4 separate regions of the Homo sapiens genome follow, and regions 1, 2 and 4 are each linked to region 3. Evidence: promoter capture Hi-C in human tissues and cell types (Jung and others, 2019). All regions are on one chromosome and are shown on one strand. The core of a region is centred on a gene start or on the middle of the fragment in contact, and the rest is flanking DNA. Distances in the headings are between cores, read along the strand shown. Region 1 has its middle 130 kb from the start of OTOR. Region 2 has its middle 75 kb from the start of OTOR. Region 3 holds the start of PCSK2 (proprotein convertase subtilisin/kexin type 2). Region 4 has its middle 210 kb from the start of OTOR.

Region 1 (2,858 bases), core at 181-2,680, 350 kb before region 3:
AACAGTGGTTACCTCTGGGGAGGCAACCAGGTGACTGGGCAAAGGGGTGTGAGAGAGACTTAATTTTCACCTTACATGCTTCTGCTTTTTAAATTCTGAACCATGTATCTATATTATCCATCCACAAATAAAATAAAATAAAATAAAATATACCCCCAGTGAAAGAAAATAAATTTTAAACCACAGGCAATAAGAACTAACATACACACACACTCACATACACACATATAAATATATACAGACAGTCCCTGATTTAAGATGGTTCAATTTACAATTTTCTAATGTTATGATTGGTACCCATATAACTATTCTGTTTTGACTTTCAGTACAGTATTCACTAACTTACATGAGACGTTCAATACTTTATTATAAAATAAGCTTTGTGTTAGATGATTTTGCCCAACAGTAGGCTAATGTAAATGTTCTGAGCTTGCTTAAGGTAAGCTAGACTAAGCTATGATATTCGGTATATTAGGTGTATTAACTGCACTTTTGACTTAAAGTATTTTCAATTTGTGACAGGTTTATCAGAAGTAACCCCAGTGTACGTTGAGGAGCATCTGTATTTGGTGTACTGAATATAATATGTATTGAAATATACACTATGTATCCAACACAGTAGATAATTAAAAGTCTATTTATAGGCAAATGATTAAAAAAATTGGTGTTGAGACTCAATGAAATATTATGCAACAGTGACAATAAATGGGGTAGATACACTTGTACACAGAAAAATCACCACACCTGCAGTTAAGGGAGCTATGAAGATTGTCTAGCAATATATTATCATAAATGACAAGCAATTCTTCACACAAAACAAAGCTATGCCTAGCTATATACAGTTGTACATGTGTAAATGGGGTCCAGAAGTTCTGGAAAGATTCACATCAAAATAATAGCAGTTACCTTTACAGAGGGTATTAGGATTAAGATGAGCTTTGATTATGCATTTTGAGAATATATATCCATGTCTTACTTATATTATAGAAATAAATAAATGTTTAAAAAATAATAAATCTTTGCATTTGTGTTTAAAAATTTTGTTCAACAAATGTTCATTTGTTGTTGTTCATGGTATAAGTATTGGAGACAACTTAAACCGTCATCAGTGAAAGAGTGGCTAAATAGACTATGCCATATCTGTGATATTTAATCACATGCCGCTATTAAAGACAATGAGGGAGATCTCACCCTGATTACATGTATGGTTAAATGCATTGAAATTAAATTGTCAACATACCAAATATACCAAAATATTGGCAATATTTATCTTCAGAAAGAAGAATAAAAATGAAGGTATAAATTAGGACTTGATGGTTTTTTTTTTTTTTTGAGACGGAATCTCGCTCTGCCACCCAGGCTGGAGTGCAATCTCGGCTCACTACAACCTCTGCCTCCCAGGTTCAAGCGATTCTCCTGCCTGAGCCTCCTGAGTAGCTGGGATTACAGGCACCTGCCACCATGCCCGGCTAATTTTTTGTATTTTTAGTAAAGACAGGGTTTCACTATTTTGGCCAGGCTGGTCTCAAACTCCTGACCTTGTGATCTGCCTGCCTTGGCTTCCCAAAGTGCTGGGATTACAGGCGTGAGCCACCGCACCCGGCCAGTTTGTTTTTAATATATATGAGTGCCTGTAGTGTTTGAACCTTATAAGAACAGTGTTTTTATTTATTATTGTGTAATTAAAAATCTATATTAACAGAACATAAGATCTGTAGTAGCAGAGTAACAGTATATTTGTGTCTTGAAAATGAAAAGACAACATTTACATTCATGATTGATATGGCCGATCCCCCCCCATTATTCTTCTTAGCTGTTGACATCCATTCAAACTTTCTTTCATTTGATTGATGCAACTATTTTTTGACTCTCTCTTCTCATTTTTGAGACAGAGTCTCACTCTTTCATCCAGGCTGGAGTGCAGTGGAGTGATCTCAGCTTACTACAACCTCTCCTCTCAGGTTCAAATGATTCTCCTACCTCAGCCTACTGAGTAGCTGGGACTACAGGTGCCCACCACCACACTCAGCTAATTTTTGGATTTTTAGTGGAGGCCGGGTTTCACCTTCTTGGCCAGGCTGGTCTCGAACTCCTGACCTCAGGTGATCTACCTTCCTTGGCCTCCCAAAGTGCTGGGATTACAGGCATGAGCCGCTGCACCCGGTCTGACTCTCCCTTTCATAAACCAGAGGATGACACCTCCTAATCTCTCCACCTTCCTCTTTTAGTCAGTGTTTCAAATGGATTAAAAACAAGGGCTGCTTGCTAAGGACTACGCTGATCAAAAGAAATACAGACGTTGCTCTATGTGTCAAATAAAGCACCTGTTTGTTCACTTTCCAGGAAAAATTGCCATGTGGTTGATACTGTAGGAAACAGGAGACTGCTATATTTGTTGGAGTTGGATGCAGACCATTCTTACATTGCCAAGTGTAGGGGCAAAGGGGGTGTCTAGTCTCATGTTATTTTCAAACCTTAAAAGACATAGAGAGTGAGGCAGTTCTTCCAAATCATTTTACCAAAGTAAGTTCTCATTTGTTCTGCATTGACAACTTCACATGATTAAAAGAAAGGAAATTTCCCCAATATTCCACTTGTCACTTCTGATAGCCCGATTCTCTACACAGCTAACTCACAAGTTTACCTGGGAAGCCAAGTTCTTTACTGACTTTGCAGCTTTGAATATTCCAGTAAAAGATGTAGGGTAGTACTGCAAATAGCCCTAAATCTGCTATTTAAACTTTGAAACATTTTATTCAAGACCTTGTTTTTCCTACTGAATTTCCCTTGAAGCTTAAACCCCATTCCCTGTAGTGCAAAATTTCCATTAACAACGAGAACCAACGGCTTAAATCACT
Region 2 (3,008 bases), core at 455-2,954, 400 kb before region 3:
ATCCACGGGGCTATAGAAGCAGAAAAAAAGACCCTATCCAGCATTCTCTACAGTCACAGCCCCTGGTCGGGGGTGGGGGGTTAAAGTAAAGGGAAATAAAAAAAAATATAGGAAATAAAAGAAAAAGTCCTACCTGTGCCAAAATAATTACAAAAATTAGAATACCAGCATCTCCAGATGAGAAGGAACCAGCTCAAGAATTCTAGCACCATGAAAAATCTGAATGAAATGGCACCACCAAAGGATGCCACTAGCCCTCCAACAACGGTCCCTAACCAAAGTGGAAACTTAGAGATGACAGGTAAAGAATTCAAAGCATGAATTGCAAGGAAGCTCCATGAGATCTATGACAATGTTGAAAATCAACACAAAGAAACCTCTAAAATCCAGGAAATGGAGGAAGAGATAAACACCTTAAAAAGAAATCAGCCAGAGCTTCTGAAATTAAAAAGCTCACTTAAAGAATTTCAAGATACAATTAGAAGCTTTATGAATACACTAGCAGAAGAAAGAATTTATCGATAAACAAGCAGAAGAAAGAATTTCTGAGCTTGAAGAGCAGTCTTTCAACTGAGTCAGACAAAAATGGAAAAAAAAGAATTTTTAAAAACGAAGTCTTTGAGAAATATGGGATTATGTAAAGTGACCAAACCTATGAATTGTCTCTGAGAGAGAAGGAGAAAAAGTAAACAACCTAGAAAACATATTTGAAAGAATAATACAAGAAAATTTCCTTAATCTTGCTATAGAGAGATAAAAATCTAGATACAAGAAATCCATAGAACACCTGTGAGATACCATACAAAGTGAACATTACCAAAGCATATAGTTACCAGACTGTCCGAGGTCAATGCTAAAGAAAAAATCTTGAATGTAGCTAGAGAAAAAGGGCAGATAAAACACAATGGGAACTGCATTAGGCTAACAATGAACTTCTCAGCAGAAACCTTACAAGCAAGGAGAGATTGAGGGCCTATTGTCAGTATTCTTAAAGAAAAAAATTCCAACCAAGAATTTCATATCGCACTAAACTAAGCTTCATATGTGAAGGAGAAATAAAATCTTCTGCAGGCAATCAAGTGCTAAGGGAATTTGTTACCACTGGATCAGCCTTATAAGAGATCCTTAAGTGATTTCTAAACATGGAAACAAAAGAATGATATGTGCTATCACAAAAACACACTTAAGTATATAACTCACAGACCCTACAAAGCAACCATACAATAGAAACCATAAAGCAACCATCTAACAATTTCATGTTAGGATAAAAAAAATCATATATCAGTATTAAACTTGAAGTAAATGGTTTAAATGCCCCACTTAAAAGGCACAGAGAGGCAAGTTGGATAAAAAACAAGATCCATCTGTTTGCTGTGTTCAAGAGACATATCTCACATGTAATGACACCAATAGGCTCAAAGTAAAGGGCTGGAGAAAGATCTATCATGCAAATGGAAAACGAACAAGAGCAGACATTGTTATTCTTATTTCAGATGAAACAGCAATTAAACTAACAACAGTAAAAAAGGACAAAAGGTATTATTACACAAAGATAAAGAGTTCAATTCGGCAAACTTAACTATCCTAAATACACACACACACCCAACATTGGAGCACCCAGATTCATAAAACAAGTACTTCCAGACTTGTGAAAAGACTTAGAAAGCCACACAATAATAATGGGAGACTTCAACACCCCACTGGCAGTGTTAGATCTTTGATGTAGAAAACTAATAATAAAATTCTGGACTTAAATTCAACACCTGAATAATTGAACCTAATAGATATTGACAGAATACTCCACTCCTCAACCACAGAATACACATGCTTCTCACATGCACATGGAACATATTCCAAGATTGACCGTAAAGCAAGTCCCAGTAAATTAAAAAAAAATAGAAATTATACTGACCATACTCTCAGACCACAGTGGAATAAAAATAAAAGTCAATAACAGGAAAATCAAAACCACACAATTACATGGAAATTAAACAACTTGCTTCTGAATGACTTTTGGTAAATAACAAAATTAATGCAAAAATAAAAAATATCTTTAAAATAAATGAAAACAGAGACACAGCATGCCAAAACCTCTGGGATGCAGCAAAAGTATTGTTAAGAGGAAAGTTTATAGTGCTAAACGTCTACCTCAAAAACTTAGAAAGATCTCAAATTAATGGTCTTACATTATACCTAGATGAACTAGAAAAACAAGAACAAACTAATCCCAATCCTAGCAGAAAAAAATAAATAACTAAAACTAAAGCTGAATTGAGTGAAATTGAGACCCAAACATCCATACAAAGAATCACCAAAATCCAAAGTTGGTTTTGAAAGGATAAACAAGATCAATAGATCTCTAGCTGGATTAACAAAAAAAGGAGAGAAGATCCAAATAAGCATAATCAGAAATGAAGAAATAACAAAGGTGACATTGCAGCCAATCCTACAGAAATATAATAAAAATCAGAGACTATTATGAACACCTTTATGCACACAAAATAGAAAATTTAGAGGAAATGAATCAATTCCTGGAATCACACAATGTCCCAATATTGAATTAGGAAGAAATTGAAACCTTGAACAGACCAATATTGAGTTCCAAAATGGAATCAGTAGTAAAAAAAAAACTACTAGCCAAAAAAAACTCCCTACTGGATGGATTTACAGCTGAATTCTGCCAGACATACAAAGAAGAGCTGGTGTCAATTCTACTAAAACTATTTCAAAAATCAAGGAGAAGGGGATCCTCCATAACTCATTTTACAAAGCCAGCATCACCCTGATGCCAATACCTGGAAAACACACAATGGAAAAAGAAAACTACAAGCCAATATCCCTGATAAACATAGTCACAGAAATTCTTAACAAAATACTAGCAAACTAAATCCAGCAGCACATCACAAAGTTAATTTACCATGATCATTTCTGGGATGCAAGGTTGGTTCAACATATGTAAATCAATAAGTGTGATTCACCACATAAACTGATGAAAAACAAAAACCATA
Region 3 (3,250 bases), core at 228-2,727:
GGGTGGTCCATGGCATTCAAAGTGTATTCATTTCTACCGATGGTGCTTTTCTTGCATAGGTTCTGACTTGTGTAGATTTGGACTTCAAGCTAAAATAAAAAGAGAGGAATATGTGTATACATGAGAATGTGTGTGTAACGTGTCGATGGTATAAATAGTCTCTTCCTCTCTCTCTGAATTGCATGCACTTAAGCCCCTAAGAAAAGATCTCTTACCTCTTATCTAAGTAAAGCAGAATTTTGAGCTTTGAAGCTAAATGATACAATGAGATCAGTGTAAATACTCTTTAACACAACAATATTTGAGTAGCTTTGAAACAGTCGTCCTCATTTCGTTACATACAGAACGTTCGTGCTTCCTCCCTCTCAGGCAAGAAGCGGAGTCCGTCGTCAGCAGTTAGCAGAGTCCAGTGCGAGTGCACGTTTCTTAACCGGATAACTTAGTTGCCCCTGCCCCCCGTCGCTGCGCCCGAATTCGCCTCCAGTAGAAGACGTTCAGCGGGCGACTTGGCCCGGCGCCTGGGATCGGTGGCTATGCGTTCCCCAACTAGCACCCTCGCTGTCCTTGTGCAGTGGAACGTCCCCAGGTCTGAGAATGCACCTCCCGCCGTGTCCACCCCGGCCGCGTCTCTCCTGAAGGCAGATCTTGGAGGTGCAGCCAGGACTCCTAGAGGAGCCTCCTCCAGTCACCATCGCGGGTGGGGCGAGCCGGGTCTCCTGCTGGGCTTCCCAGCCGCTTCGCTCCGGACCTGCCTGGAGCCTACAAAAAACAAGGGCTCGTCCTTGCACTCTCGCCCCCCATGGATCACCCCTAGAAGGTGCTTTCCCCAACCCTCCTGGTGCCAAGGAGAGCAAACCTCCCCGGGGATTTGCCCAAAGTGGTGGGAGGAGGGTTAATATTTGCTTTGTTATTCGGATAAGGGGAGGCAAGTATGCCTTGGGTGTGTGTGTGTGTGTTTGAGAGAGAGAGAAAGAGAGAGAGAGAGAGAGAGAGGTGTTTTTGCAGCGGGAAACAAGCAGGAAGAGGCACAGAGGCCGGCGCCCCTGCTCCCCTCGGGGCCTCTGAGAGCGGCACACACCGTAATTCCCTTCCCAGAGCCTACAGATTCCCACAAACAATGACATCACTCCGCCGCCGCTGGCCTGATTACAGCTGGGGGGATTTTCCTGGGCGCGCGGCGGGCCAGGCTGAGATGGGGGAGCTCTCCGGTGCTGAAAGGGGCGGGGGCGCGGGCTCGCTGCGCTGCGCTGCGCTGCGCTGCGCCCCCAGAAGGCGGAGGCGGCCGGGCCGGGCCGGGCCGGGGGTGGGCGGGGGCGGGCCCGGGGCGGCCCAGGGCGGGGCCCGCCGCTTCCCCCGCCCTCATTGGCCGCTGGCGGACTCACGTCACCCGAGCTGGTGCTCTCCCCCAGCCCCTAGGGAATTGGAGCTGAGGAGGAGCTGAAAATGCAGATTTAGCATCAAGCACAGACCTACACTCGCTCTTTCTCTCCGGTACACACAGCTCCCCACATTCGCACCCCTGCCCGCGCGCCGGGCCGCCTGACTGCACGGCTTCCCCTCCAGCCAGATGCTGGAGAACACACACTGATTCGCTGCTTTCCAAGACCCTGTTCAGTCTCTTTCTCTATACAAAGATTTTTTTAAAAACTATATATAAGAATTCTTTATTTGCACCCTCCCTCCGAGTCCCCTGCTCCGCCAGCCTGCGCGCCTCCTAGCACCACTTTTCACTCCCAAAGAAGGATGAAGGGTGGTTGTGTCTCCCAGTGGAAGGCGGCCGCCGGGTTCCTCTTCTGTGTCATGGTTTTTGCATCTGCTGAGCGACCGGTCTTCACGAATCATTTTCTTGTGGAGTTGCATAAAGGGGGAGAGGACAAAGCTCGCCAAGTTGCAGCAGAACACGGCTTTGGAGTCCGAAAGGTAAGCTCTCCCATGCATTTCGCATGTTGTTTCAAAACGGGGGGACGGGGGGGCAGCCCTGCGCAATCTCATTGCAGATTTGCAAGTTTTCTCTCTTTCTCATGCGATGCAGATATTCTGCCATGGGCTCTTTAACACGATATTGCCTCCGGTGATCTTTCACCGGTTATGTAATTAAAATGTCCTTCATCTGTACTAGTAAGGTCATCAAAATAATTTACTGCTCTTTGACTTGATGGCGAAAATAGGATAACACCTTTCACAGGATGCCATGCTCCGGGGATGCTGTCCGAGGTACCAAGTTCTCGAGGCTGCCTGGGGATGGAGGGATGAAGCCCTGAACAGCTAAGCCTGGCGTTGGCTACTTGGCCAGGGAAGTCTCCCCCACCCCCATCCCCCGGAGAAAGAATAGTTTCCTACAGACGAGGCTGGACGTTTGGACACTGCAATTCACCTCGGTGTTTCTCCCACCCCGCGCCGGGAGGACTTCCCTCCCAGGGACTTCGGTCCCTGCTCCTCTCCGGGAACAACGGCTTCCTGACTCTAGATTTGGAAAGAAACTGGTCTCTAAAATCGGGGCGGAACTTCTGCGCCCTCACCCCCGCCCACGACCGCCCACCCCTGGAGCGCACTTCTGGTTGGCTCCCTAGTTCTCAACTCCCGGCTACAGGAGCTGGAGAGGTGGATTTTGAGGGGGATTCCCTACGGAGAAGTCGAGGTGTCCTCTCCTGATGCGTGGGCGGCCAGCCTGGCTTTCCCACTAGAGCGTGGGGATCCCCATTCCAAGAAGTTGCCAGAGTTCGACAGTTTGAGCAGATAGGTGAGCCTCCCAGCTTTGGACACCTTGGATCTCCTTTGGAGACTCCAGGGTACTCATCCTGGGAGGACAGAGAGAAGGGCGCTGGGTGGGGGCTGTGGCTGACCTGCGTGTCTCTCCTGCAAAAGATGTATCAGGGTTCTCCAGTGTCCTTAGGGGACCTGGCGCAGGCTGGGGTGGAGTGTGGGTGCAGAGAGAAGGTGGGGCGAGGGGAACCCAAAGGACAGAGATGTGGCTACCAGAGGGCTGGGTGGAGGTCCCTGAGATTTTAGGCTCCATCTCGCTCCTGATCCCAGGAAGAGAGAGGAGTGAGATGAGCGGTGGGTGCTTTTGGTTATTGGTTTTGCCTTGAAGGGCCGCGCAGACCGAAGCTCTTATTAGTCTCTTCTGTCCTGACTTCCCAAGCCTCCCGCCTCTCTCCCAGCCACCGCCAGGGCTCCTCCAGGTGTGGGGGCCTCTCCCTCCTCCTAAGGGCGTAGGCAGTACCGGAATTTCGACCCCAGAAGGGTCTGG
Region 4 (3,227 bases), core at 556-3,055, 270 kb before region 3:
AGGACACAGAAAAAGGCAGCCAGCTATAAACCTGAAAGACAGGCCTCACCAGAAACCAACTATGCTGTCACCTTGATCTTGTTCTTCTAGTATCTAGAACTGTGGAACAATACATTTCTATTATTTAAGTCACTCCATCTATGGTATTTTGTTATGGCAAATGAATAGTCTAAGGCAGCCTGCAAGCTGTAAAAGTTCTAGAGGTGATTTCGGGGACATAGTAGAGAGATGTTTTTATTTTATTATTTTTGTATGTGGGGACAAAAATCAATTTGGGGATTGTGTGTATGGTTATCTTTCTACTGGAAAATTTATTATGAGGAGAAAAAATCAGATATTTCAAAATTCAAATTCCTTCCTTTATCTGATTAATGAAACAATGCGTACATGCATTTCATGCATATATAACATACATATATGTATACATACATTCTTACACTTCTCTTTACTTTGGAACACATTAGAAAGAGCTATAAATTGGGAGGCAGAAGATTTTGTTTCAAGTCTCGATTTTGCCACCTACTAGATGGGATCTCTGCCCCTCAGTTTCTTCAATGGTTAAATAAGGACAATACTATTGTGTTAGCTTTACCCAGATCATAAGAATCATTGTTGGAAGACAAATAGACCATATACATTTAAAAAAAGTTTAAAGGCTATGAAGATGCAAAGTATGAACATGGCAGAAATAGAAATTGCTTCTGAATTGCTGGGAACCCAAGCCTGAAATAATTCTTGGAAGGAAGAAAGTCACTTAGGACTTTATAAGTGTCACATTGCTCTTCATGGTTTAAGAACACCAAAATAGCTAAGAAATGTTACATAAGGAAAATCACTTCTACCACTTGATAATAGTAGTTTTTATGGAACTCTGCTTTTGCTCTCATCTGCATGAACAAATATATCCACATGCAAGCTAGGTCCTGCTTCAACTAAAATTCTAAAACAACATAAAACAACAATAGAAAATCCTTGTATTAGAAACTGAAGTGGCCAACTAATTAATTTATCCCTCCCACAATTATCTGTGTACCCATTATGTGCTTAGCATTGTCTAAAGGTTTTAGGAGGTGCCCAGCAGCATCCAAGCTTCCTTTGAGATTACAATGCAGTTGGGGATAAGAGAATGACACAAAAGAGCTGTTAAATAGAGCAGGGAAAGTAGTACAAGAGATGTCACAGGCAGATTTGTGACAAGTGCTGACAGCGTGTCAAGATTTCAGAGAATGAAGAGATGAGAGAAAGCTGAGCTAATCATTGAATTTCCTGTTGAAAAGAAAGGACTTGAGTTGGATATTGATAATCAACTAGGATTTGGATAGGAGACAAAGATGAGGATGGCTTTGATTATAGAAATATGAGTTCAGGAAGTCCTGTACAAATCCACCAGCTGGAACTATCTAGGCAGAATAACAATCTTTATGTACAGTGTAATCCATAGTACAATGGCAACTGTACTATGGATTACACTATAATCCAGTGGTGATCATGAATGCCCTGATAACATAGCCCAGGCCACTACATCACCAATCCTGCTTCCTTTTGGGTCACAGGGCCTTCAAAGTATATGAACCCTTGAAATTATAATTTAAAACAATAATGCCCAAAATGAGTTTCATGAAACCTTGATACCTTTTGACATGTATCATCAGTAAGTGTTACCTCTAAAAATGAAGACATGTGGTTAAAAAAGTTCAGGAAACACTAAATACTGTATCTCCACTGGAGAGCTTCAATACACATTATTAGCTGCACTAGATTGATTTTGGTAACTCTGCTCCATTCCTGCCCCCTGCTTTATAAAATCCAAAAATTCTTTAATGGTGGGCACAAAACAAAGATACTCAACTAAATGAAGGGCAGAACTCTTAGTTACTTACATCTCTGAAGGAGAGAAGGCTGCCACGCAGGGCCACACGGGGAGTTGCAAGATGCAGAGAGCAATTTATGTCTGGTGTATGGCAAGCCGGGTTTCACAGGCTTCCTGTGAATTGACTAATTTGAATAATTTTGTGGACTCAGTACATAGAGACTGTCCCTAATTGTCTGGGGTCTGGCCCCAGGCTAATTGGGTGAGTGCATAGTGGTCTGCAGCGTGAGAGCCCAATAAGGAAAATGCTTAATCAGTTGCTCAAGGAAGGGAACTGACAGGCTTCTGGTGGGTACCTCAAATTGGGTGAAGATAACATTTCCAAAAGCAACAATAAACAAAATAGACCACTCCCTCCTGTGATCGCTACTGCATTCTAGGGTCTAGAAGCCTGATAACTACATTACTAAGATTCCAGAGGGAACAGAGTTCAGACTAGACGCTGCCAATGGAGAAGCACTTACATGAAAAGTAAAAGGCAAAAGGGAGAGAGCTACTGTTGTTTCTCCAGCAAGTGGCAGGAGTAAATCTGAGATTTGTGAGATGCAATGTTTTCTAGTCCTTTCCAGACATTCCCCTGAACATTAGTCACCTCAGGTCTGGAGACAGTAGTGATAGCGACAGCAGCTTCCTAACTGTGGTGCTCTTTGGATCTAATGGTGGCTTTACCTGATCTTTGCGACTTCAGGCCCTTCCAATAGAGTTGTAAGCTCCCAATCTTCCGCATTAAATATTTTTATGCTAGAAATCTACAGTTATTGCTGCTTTCCTGACTGTGTCCCAACAATATAGCATAGTTAAATTTCTGGGAACCCATGCTATAAAACAAAACAAAACAAAATAAACTAGCATTTCCCAAATATGTTTGACCATAGAACCTGACTCCCCATTTCCCCTTCTCCCCAAAACCACCTTCTGATATCTTGAAAAATTCGTTTCGTGGTGCTCCCTTTGGAAAACATCCATAGACTTATATGTTGAGAACTAGGAGTCCAGAAATGTGGGCTTAGTCTCAGCTGTGTGACCTTGGGTAGGTCACATCATTTATCTTGTTTTTAGTTTCTCTGCTAGATCAAAAGAAGAGTTGAATGAAGATAACCAGGAATTTTAGCTCTAATTTGTTTCCATTCTGTGAGAAATGCTGTCCTTAAAAACTATCATTGTTCAGGTAGAAAAAAATAAAAATTAAAAAAAGAACTACTGTGTTTTCCTTTGCCTTCTCTTCCTTTTTGGCTTGGTTTGCATGAATATTTTGAGTCAAGCTAGGAAAATTCCAAGAAAACTGGCAGCAAGTGAATAAATGCTGGATAGCTCTTACTAAAGTGATGTGGTGTTTTTAGAACTTTAATATATTAAT

The links. Contacts are between HindIII fragments. The study calls those that stand out against the background at their distance.
Region 1: a contact is called between a fragment that was not itself captured here and the fragment with the promoter of PCSK2 in region 3, in 3 of the 25 tissues and cell types used here (dorsolateral prefrontal cortex, mesenchymal stem cells and mesendoderm cells).
Region 2: a fragment that was not itself captured here is called in contact with the fragment with the promoter of PCSK2 in region 3 in 4 of the 25 tissues and cell types used here (H1 embryonic stem cells, dorsolateral prefrontal cortex, heart right ventricle and 1 more).
Region 4: a fragment that was not itself captured here is called in contact with the fragment with the promoter of PCSK2 in region 3 in 2 of the 25 tissues and cell types used here (dorsolateral prefrontal cortex and lymphoblastoid cells).

The regions. Positions count from the first base shown.
Region 1 is chr20:16,873,848-16,876,705 of GRCh38, forward strand. No RefSeq gene overlaps it. Among named protein-coding and RNA genes, the nearest start is that of OTOR, 130 kb to the left of the region's middle. The HindIII fragment of the contact is 3,241 bases long and covers 1-2,858 here.
Region 2 is chr20:16,821,719-16,824,726 of GRCh38, forward strand. No RefSeq gene overlaps it. Among named protein-coding and RNA genes, the nearest start is that of OTOR, 75 kb to the left of the region's middle. The HindIII fragment of the contact is 4,833 bases long and covers 1-3,008 here.
Region 3 is chr20:17,225,563-17,228,812 of GRCh38, forward strand. PCSK2 (proprotein convertase subtilisin/kexin type 2) reads left to right here and starts at 1,478. Exons shown (of 12, transcript NM_002594.5): 1 at 1,478-1,920. The coding sequence starts at 1,744. The HindIII fragment of the contact is 16,215 bases long and covers 1-3,250 here.
Region 4 is chr20:16,952,046-16,955,272 of GRCh38, forward strand. No RefSeq gene overlaps it. Among named protein-coding and RNA genes, the nearest start is that of OTOR, 210 kb to the left of the region's middle. The HindIII fragment of the contact is 9,535 bases long and covers 1-3,227 here.